Regions from separate parts of the Homo sapiens genome. Here region 2 is linked to region 1. Evidence: promoter capture Hi-C in human tissues and cell types (Jung and others, 2019). All regions are on one chromosome and are shown on one strand. The core of a region is centred on a gene start or on the middle of the fragment in contact, and the rest is flanking DNA. Distances in the headings are between cores, read along the strand shown.

What was found. The method cuts DNA at HindIII sites, captures the fragments that hold promoters and counts their contacts. A contact is called where the count stands out against the background at its distance.
Region 2: a contact is called between a fragment that was not itself captured here and the fragment with the promoter of OSBP2 in region 1, in 1 of the 25 tissues and cell types used here (pancreas).

The regions. Positions count from the first base shown.
Region 1 is chr22:30,693,348-30,697,822 of GRCh38, reverse strand. OSBP2 (oxysterol binding protein 2) reads right to left here and starts at 2,949. Exons shown (of 14, transcript NM_030758.4): 1 at 2,270-2,949. The coding sequence starts at 2,913. RefSeq lists silencers at 2,763-2,812, 3,197-3,276. The HindIII fragment of the contact is 4,458 bases long and covers 767-4,475 here.
Region 2 is chr22:30,730,621-30,734,767 of GRCh38, reverse strand. The region is part of intron 1 of OSBP2 (oxysterol binding protein 2); the gene reads right to left. MIR3200 (microRNA 3200) reads right to left here and starts at 3,211; the gene lies at 3,127-3,211. The HindIII fragment of the contact is 9,479 bases long and covers 1-4,147 here.

The DNA of each region.
Region 1 (4,475 bases), core at 1,700-4,199:
CGTATAAATGTCAGGAATCGTTCATTATACCTGGGTAAGGTCAGCAACAATTTGACCCATCTTAGAATCTCGAAAAGTCCGAAAAGGAAATTGCAGAGCTGGACTGTACACGCACACACACCAGAAACTTGTTCTCACTCCCTCCTCCCCACAAAACTAGCATTTATCTTCACAACATTATCAGCAAGCAGTAAGAATTTTTCTTAGTTACCCAGAGAATCTGCACACTTGAGATCACTCTGAAATGTCAACCGTCTACACATTTTGTTTTAAGAAAAGAAGATTTGGGAGGCTGAGACGGGCAGATCATGAGGTCAAGAGATCAAGACCATCCTGGCCAACATGGTGAAACCCCGCCTCTACTAAAAATACAAAAATTAACCGTGTGTGGTGGCGCACACCTGTAATCCCAGCTACTTGGGAGACTGAGGCAGGAGAACTGCTTGAACCTGGGAGGCGGAGGTTGCAGTGAACCGAGATTGCACCACTGCCCTCCAGCCTGGTGACAGAGTGAGACTCCATCTCAAAAAATAAAAAAAAGAAGATGGACATCTTTGCTCTTCCAATTAAAACCCAAAAGCATGATATCAGGTTTTACTTCCACTAAAACCAGGCATTTCTGCCACTGTGGGAGACTATACTTATAAACATTACCTTTAACTCTTCAGTTTAGTAGTACCTGGTAAATACAGGTAACACAGACATGCTGAACTCAAAGGTGAGTGGGTATCAGGACACATTTGGGACAGGTCCAGATGTTGGTGTTCAGAATCCCTCTCTACCGTCTACTGGGCCAGTGCCTTTGGATAATGGGCTCTGTGTCTCCCCATCAAACCTCAGAACTCCTCATTTGTAAGACAGGAGAGGCCGGTGTGGTGGCTCATGCCTGTAATCCTAACACTTTGGGAGGCCGAGGCAGGCGAATCACCTGAGGTCAGGAGTTCGAAACCAGCCTGGGCAACATGGTGAAACCCCATCTCTACTAAAAATACAAAAAAAAAATTAGCCGGGCATGGTGACGGGCGCCTGTAATCCCAACTACTCAGGAGGCTGAGGCAGAAGAATTGCTTGAACCTGGGGGGCGGAGGTTGCAGTGAGCCAAGATTGCACCACTGCACTCCAGCCTGGGCGACAGAGCAATACTCCGTCTCAAAAACAAAAACAACAAAAAACAAAACCCTGTAGTGGGTGACTTGAAGGGATACTGTTGGCTGAATGAAGTGAGTGAAGTGACCTGAATTTCAGCAACAGCAAGTCAAGGTCCTTTTGTGTGCAGCAATGAAACAGTGCTTCTCAGAGTGTGGTCCTGGACCAGCATCACCAGCCACGCCTGGGAAGTTATTAGAAAATCCGAATCTCAGGCCCTTCCCCTAGGCCCACTGTAACAGAAATTCATTGGGGAGGCCCAGCACTTTGTGTTCCAACAAGCTCTTCAGGGAATGCTGATGCACACTCAGGTTTGAGAACCACTGGCATAGACTGATCTGAGTTCTCAAGGCTTAAACCAACCATCCCCAGGAAGCAGACCCAGGGAAGAGCCAGTAAGAAAGCAAAGGGAGGCTTCAGTAACCTCCTTTCAACCAGTTTCAGTGGGAAGACAGTGTTAGCTCTCTCACCACTGGACTTTAATTTTGAATCCCGTGCTGGGTCTGGAATAAGAAAGGAGGGCAGCAAAACACTTCCTAGCTCTCCGCAAAATGCCAAGATGGACTCCTGAAGGCCAAGAACCGTGTCCAATACATCTGTGAGTCTGTGGTGCCCAGCCCAAGGCCTGGCAACCAGAGGCATCAGGAAAGGTGGGAGTAACTGCCCCAGGCGGGAAGAATAAGCAGCCCTTCCTAAGAGTGTGGGTCCTAAGGACTGAACAAGGTGACTCTCTCCCTCAATCCCAAACACACAATGATGTTAGCTCCCGAACCAGAAAGGGCAAGGACTTTGAGGGGCTGACTCTAGCTAGCTGCCCCAAGCCCCACAACTGCCAAGCAGAAGGGAACTGAGGCCCCAGATCACTCCCTTACTCCACCTCCCCACTTGCCCAAAAACCCAAGCTTGCCAGAGGTCATGTCCGCAGATCACATTCACCCTTGCCAGAGGTCAGGGCCCCCGGCCCTTGGCGGCGGGCCAGAAGCGTGACTTGGCCTGCTGGAATGCATGCCCCTAAACATCTCTAGACTAGTGGCAGTGTCCGCCAACCATGGAGGCCCTCCATCACCATCCCTGCAGCATCACCACCCTCCAACCCCCATGTCCCACCCTGGCGCTTCCATACCTGTAGTAAGAGAGCAAACCATTGCCCAGCACGAACCAGCGGCGCTGGTAGCCCTTCAGATAGTTGGTCCACTTGAGAAGCCAGCCCTCGAAGCTGTCCAGAGGCAGTAAGGCCAGTGGGGCACTGGAGGTCGTGCCAGTCCCCGACATTGGAACCCCAAGAGGAGTCTTCGCCTGTCCTGGTCGCAGAAGAGGCAGGGGCTTTAACGCTGGCAGCGATCCTGACTCGGGTCTGAGAAAGGTCGCGCTCCCCACCGCCCGGGAGAGCGGCTCCGATGCGGCCTTAGTGAAGGGCCCAGCCCCTACACCTGAGCTTGACTCTGACCCCGGCCGCGACCCCTGCAGCAGTTCCGATGGCTGCCCAGCCCCTGGCTCCGGCTCAGACGTCGTCTCGGACACAGGTTCCGATCTTGGCACTGCCTCCGAAACTGCCTCCGACACCTGTTCTGACAGCGGTCCCCGCTCCGGTTCGGGCACGGGCTGGGGCTGGGGCTTGGGCTCCGGCCCGGAGCCGGACGTGGAAGCGCTCATGCCCGGCGCCGCCGTGTGGCACGACAGGCAGGGGACAACCGTGAACAGCGACGAGAGCCCGCGGGAGCGGCCGCCACAGCCGCCGCCTCGGCTCGGAGCCGCCGCTTTCCCCATAGAGCCGGCCGACCCGCGCGCGGCCGAGCGGCCAGTGGGGGCGGGGGGCAGGCCGGGGGCGGGGCCGGGGGCGCAGTCACGTGCGCGCGGCGCGAGGCGGGGGCGCGCGCGGGTTCCTCCGCGGTCCCGTGCGCTCCGTGCCCGTCAGCGCCCGCCGGCTGTTGTGCTCTCGGCCAGCCTCGGGCCATGTTTGGACCCTGGGTCCTTCCTAGGTCCGGCCGGTGGAAGGAGCTCTGACAACACCTGTGGGCGGAAGAGCTTGGTGGTCGGTCAACTCCGAAGGGGATGGCGCGCTTCAGGCCACGGTCTCTGCTTCGGCCCAGCCGTGCCAGGCGCTGGAGGAACAATGATGAATGCGGAGCCCGCCAGCTCCCAGCGCAGCTCTGCCCACGGGACCCTGCGCCGACGCCCCCTCCCCCAACCCAGGCTGGGGTGGGTTCGCTCTCCGCCACCCAGGAAAGCCGGGTGGGAAGCAGGTACGGCACCCAGAGGCCACGAAATGCGCACGAAGCACAGGGGCGCTAAAGGCTAAAGACGACGCCCCGCCCCCCATGGCAGCCATTACCTGTCTGTGGGTCGCTCCTGCGGCCGCCAGAAGCGGTGGCCCCAAGTGGCCGCCTCACCGCCTCCACCTCCTGAGCCAGCTGGCCTACGGTTCATGCCAAGGCGCTTCGCTGCCAGTGACGACATCGTTCGGGTTCTCTAAACAAATAGGGGAAGACTTTTTGTAAACCAAGCGTTTTAGTACAAGAAACATCTCAAAGTGGGATTCTGAACTTGGACCTCCCGGGATCCCTGGGTAGGCTGGCAGTCTGTGAGGCTTCCGCAGAGGTTTACCTGTCTGTGCATTTTTCCAGAGTAGGTCCATAACAAAGGAGGCTGTGACCCCAGAATGGTTAAAACATCAGCGAATTTTTTTTTCCGCTTTTTTTTTTTTTCCTTTTTGAGACTGAGTCTCACTCGGTAGCCCAGGCTGGAATGCAGTGGCGTGATCTTGGTTCACTGCAGCCTCCGCTTCCCAGGTTCAAGCGATTCTCCTGCCTTGGCCTCCCTAGTAGCTGGAATTCCACGGCCCGCACCATGCCCAGCTAAATTTTGTATTTTTAGTAGAAACGGGGTTTCACCATGTTGGTCAGGCTGGTCTTGAACTCCTGACCTCAGGCCAGGATCCTCCCGCCTCGGCCTCCCAAAGTGCTAGGATTACAGGCGTGAGCCACTGTGCCCAGCCATCAGTGATTTTTTTTTTTTCTTAAGAATCTATCCAAATGACGAAAGTTGATGGTTACTACAAATAATCAGAAATACAAATGGAAAGACTGAACATTGGGTTTCTGTCCAGACTTTTCAAGCTTAGACCTCTCTGCAGACTCCTCTTAGCTCACCATCACGTCTTACTCTCCCCTTACCCACCTATCCATTCCTGATCTTTGCTTGTGACAAGATAACCTGTGTAGGGACTGCTTCCTACGTGAAGTGGTCCCCAGAAGGAAGCAGATTGGAAGGTCCTAGAAATAGGAGGTGCAGACATGCACTGAGCAGGAGCCGCTGGCATCTTTGCTGGT
Region 2 (4,147 bases), core at 561-3,060, 38 kb before region 1:
CTCTTCTCTTTCATTTAGATATTTTATGTTCAATCCATTTTTAACCTGTAGCCAAGGTATTATTTTTACCTTTTTTATTCAGTTTTAAAAATTTTTCAATGGCTTCAAACTCAGTCCTGAAAGGGTCTAAAATTTAGGGATGTATCCTAAAATCCAGATTGTTGTTTAGGAGTAGTGCACCTGCTCATGTTGTAAATAAATGATTTTGTTTCTCCCACTGTGAGTCCTGGCTGAGGTAACCCTCTCTATGAAGGTTAAGCTTCCAGGGAAGTCCAATAGTCCAGACAGTGGCAAAGTTAAAGCCCTGCTCACAGTACACTATAGACCTGGGCCCTGCAAGCTGCAGTGGTAACTCCTCTCCCGCAAGAGGCTATGGAGGTGTGCAATATTCCAGAACCATCTGGTCTCACTGAGCCCTAAGCAGCTTCAGTGGCCTCACTACCAGCCATGATCTAAGGCCTCCCAGTTTCATCAGGGCTCATATCCAAAATACATGATAATGTGGCCAGGCATGATGGCTCATGCCTATAATCCCAGCACTGAGGCAGGCAGATCACTTGAGGCCAGGAGTTCGAGACCAGCCTGGCCAACATGGTGAAACCCCGTCTCTACTAAAAATACAAAAATTAAATGGGCCTGGTGGTGCATGTCTGTAATCCCAGCTACTCAGGAGGCTGAGGCAGGAGAGTCGTTTGAACCCAAGAGGTGATGGTTGCAGTGAATGGAGATCACACCACTGCACTCTAGCCTGGGTGACAGAGCTAAACTCCGTCTCAAAAAAAAAATGATAATGTATTTTCTGCCACTTTTAAGGAGACATGTTTTGAGGCATTACTTTGATATCTGATTTAGAACAAATATAAACAAAATACTAAACATCTGCAGTACAATTTAACTGCAAGAGAATTTACCACAACCAACATCCCACTAAGTTAACTACACCGATTCTCAACAAAATAATACTCGCAATGACCCCAGTCACACTCTCACCTCTGTCAAGGATTCCAGCAATCAGAACTTGGAAGCCTGTAGTAGTTAATGCATTGCTTTTTAGGCCATGGAGACCATCTATGGTTAGCGACTTACATAGTTGTATTGGACCCAAACCTTGTACATCAACTAAGAATGGTGCACCTCCTCCGTCCCCTCTCTCTCTCCTCCATTTAAGCCAAGTCGCCCCTGCATTTTTGGGCTTGGGAGTAGTACTGCATCTCAGAGTATGCAATCTGGTTTCCTGAGTGGTCACCGACAAGCTGGATTTTTGCAACCCACAGTATGGAAGGGTTAGTGACTCACAGGTTAAACAATGAGCAGTGGGAAATGGGAAGTGGATGGAAACCAGGCCAGGAAATGCTCTTCATTTATCCCCCCTGCAGATCTCTCCAAGGTATCTTTGCAAACCTTCCAGAGAAGTCCATGAGCCCAGAGAACATGAGTGGCCTCTGTGAGCCTTACAGTTTGCTGCAAAGCAGTGGCGAGGTCTTGAAGCCTCATGTTACTTTGCATCCTCCCCTTGCTTTCCTTCCTCTTTTGCCTCCCCAGCACCAAGGCTCATCTCGCGGCTCCACTGAGTGCCCGATCTACCAGCAGTAGAAACCAACACGGAACCCTCCTTGATATGGCCCATCCTTGGGAAGAGCCAGACAGCCACTAACTATATCAGACCCCTTCCACCTTGGAGGGATACACAATTTATCCTTCATGAAACGGAAGTGCTTTTTGGTAATGAGGTTGCCTTCCCTGCCTGTAGTGCCTCCAGCAGCACCATGGTCCAAAGTTACTGAATGCCTCGTGTGCTGGCCTGGACTTCCATTCGATACAGCCTTATACAAAGTGGCCCATTTCAGCCTAGCAGCTGTGCCAGTGACTCCTGGCCATAAATTCACTGGAATCACAGGAACCCAGCTGCACTAGGGGGCAGCGAGCCTGACAAAACAATGGAATGGCCTACTGGCTTAGCGGGGACACCGAGGGAGAAATACCCCTCAGGTTTGAGCCTCTGTCCTCCAGGATGCCTTGAGCTGACAACTGATATCTGGTGCCATGTCCCCCACAGCTACAGCAGACAGGTCCAGGAGTGGCCCTGCTCACCATCACGCATGGTTGCCCTTTGCAAGGTGTGTGCTTCCCATCCTCACACACTTGGGATCAGCTGGGTTAGAGGATCTAGTCCTGGGGTAAGGGAGGAATGTGAAACAAAGATTCCACTGATCTGGACACTGCCACAACCACTTGGCCACCTACGGCTCCTCATGCCAGTGACCAACAAAGAGGGGAGTGACTCTACTGCCAGGGGAGTGACTCTACTGCCAGGGGAGTGACTCTACCGCCAGGGGTCACTGATCCTAATTGCCATGAGGAATTAGGTGAGTGGCCCATTTGGAAATGGGAGGAGAATGTCTGGAATAAAACCCAGAGGACTCCTTGGGATATCTCTTATTTTTATTTATTTATTTATTTTTTGAGACAGAGTTTCACTCTTGTTGCCCAGGCTGGAGTGCAATGGCGCTATCTCGGCTTTCTGCAACCTCCGCCTCCCAGGTTCAAGTGATTCTCCTGTCTCAGCCTCCCGAGTAGCTGGGACTATAGGCACCCGTCACCACGCCCAGCTAATTTTTGTATTTTTAGTAGAGATGGGGTTTCACCATGTTAGTGAGGCTGGTCTTGAACCCCTGACCTCAGGTGATCTTTCCACCTTGGCCTCCCAAAGTGCTGGGATTACAGGCATGAGCCACTGTGCCTAGCACCGGTATCTCTTAACATTTCCATGATTGGTAACGGCTGATAATGAGCAAGGCCAACAACACATGCAGACCACTCAGCGCAAACATCACAGACCAGCCAGAGTGCTGGCGGAGAGTGGAGAGGGTCTAGGGTGGGTAGTGCAGGAGGGAAATGATGAGTAACAATGAGCACACCAGGACCGGCCACAGCAGCAGCAGATGACCTTGTTTCACAACCTTCTTGCTTTATTCTTCCTGGTAACCCCAGTGGGCCAGCACCAGGAAATGGCTTCTGTCACTGATGGGATTTGTACCTTCCTGCTCAGGGAAGGAATGAGGATGTTTTTGTTCTCCAAGGAAAACGGAGATTCCCACATTGAAGTAGGAGAGCTGATATCATGGGAGGGCACGAGCAGACCTGAGTAGCGCAAGGTGTGGACTGTATTGGACACAAACCTTGTGCGCCTTCTCAGATTCCCTCGACCACCTCCTTCTTTGTCTCTCTCGATGATGCCTCATCCAGGTCACGCCGTACCTCCACTTCTGGGCTTGTATGAAATGCCACCGTGGAAAATAGGATATGAAAAGAACAGGTCAGATGAATCTCCCCCCACTCTTCCCTCCACGGATGGCTCTGAGGTGTATTTTCTTCTTGTGTAAGTTCTGGAAAAGTCCATGTGCCAGGCAAGCATGCTTGCTGAGCGACCCACCGTGTCTCTGTAGCTCGCTGTGAAGTCTCATCCAGCAAGGGAATGAGCTGGGTGGTCACTTTGATCTCTCCTCTGCCACTTGCCATTGCTCCTTCACTGCCCTGGGATTGCACCTCCCAAAGTGTCAGCTCTTTATTTTTCATTTATTTATTTATTTATTTGAGATGGAGTCTCACTCTGCCGCCCAGGCTGGAGTGCAGTGGCGCGATCTCGGCTCACTGCAACCTCCACCTCCTGGGTTCAAGCGATTCTCCTCCCTCAGCCTCCCGAGTAGCTGGGACTATAGGCGCCCGCCACCACGCCTGGCTAATTTTTTGCATCTTTAGTAAAGACAGGGTTTCACAGTGTTAGTCAGGATGGTCTCGATCTCCTGACCTCGTGATCCACCTGCCTCGGCCACCCAAAGTGCTGGGATTACAGGCGTGAGGCACCGCGCCCGGCCAGCATTAGCTCTTTAATCCCTGCCTTGGGCTATGTTTTCCAGAAGCCCTTCCCCAAAAATGTCCATGGGAAAAAAAAAAAAAATTATATATATATATATATATATATATATATATATAGAGAGAGAGAGAGAGAGAGAGAGAGAGAGAGAGAGAGAGAGAGAGAGAGAGAGAGAGACAGGGCAGCGAATCTGAATCCAGATGCACAGAAAGACCAAAAGCTACCACTCTGGAGCAAAGTACTTAGTCTTATATGGAACTTCCATTCAATGCA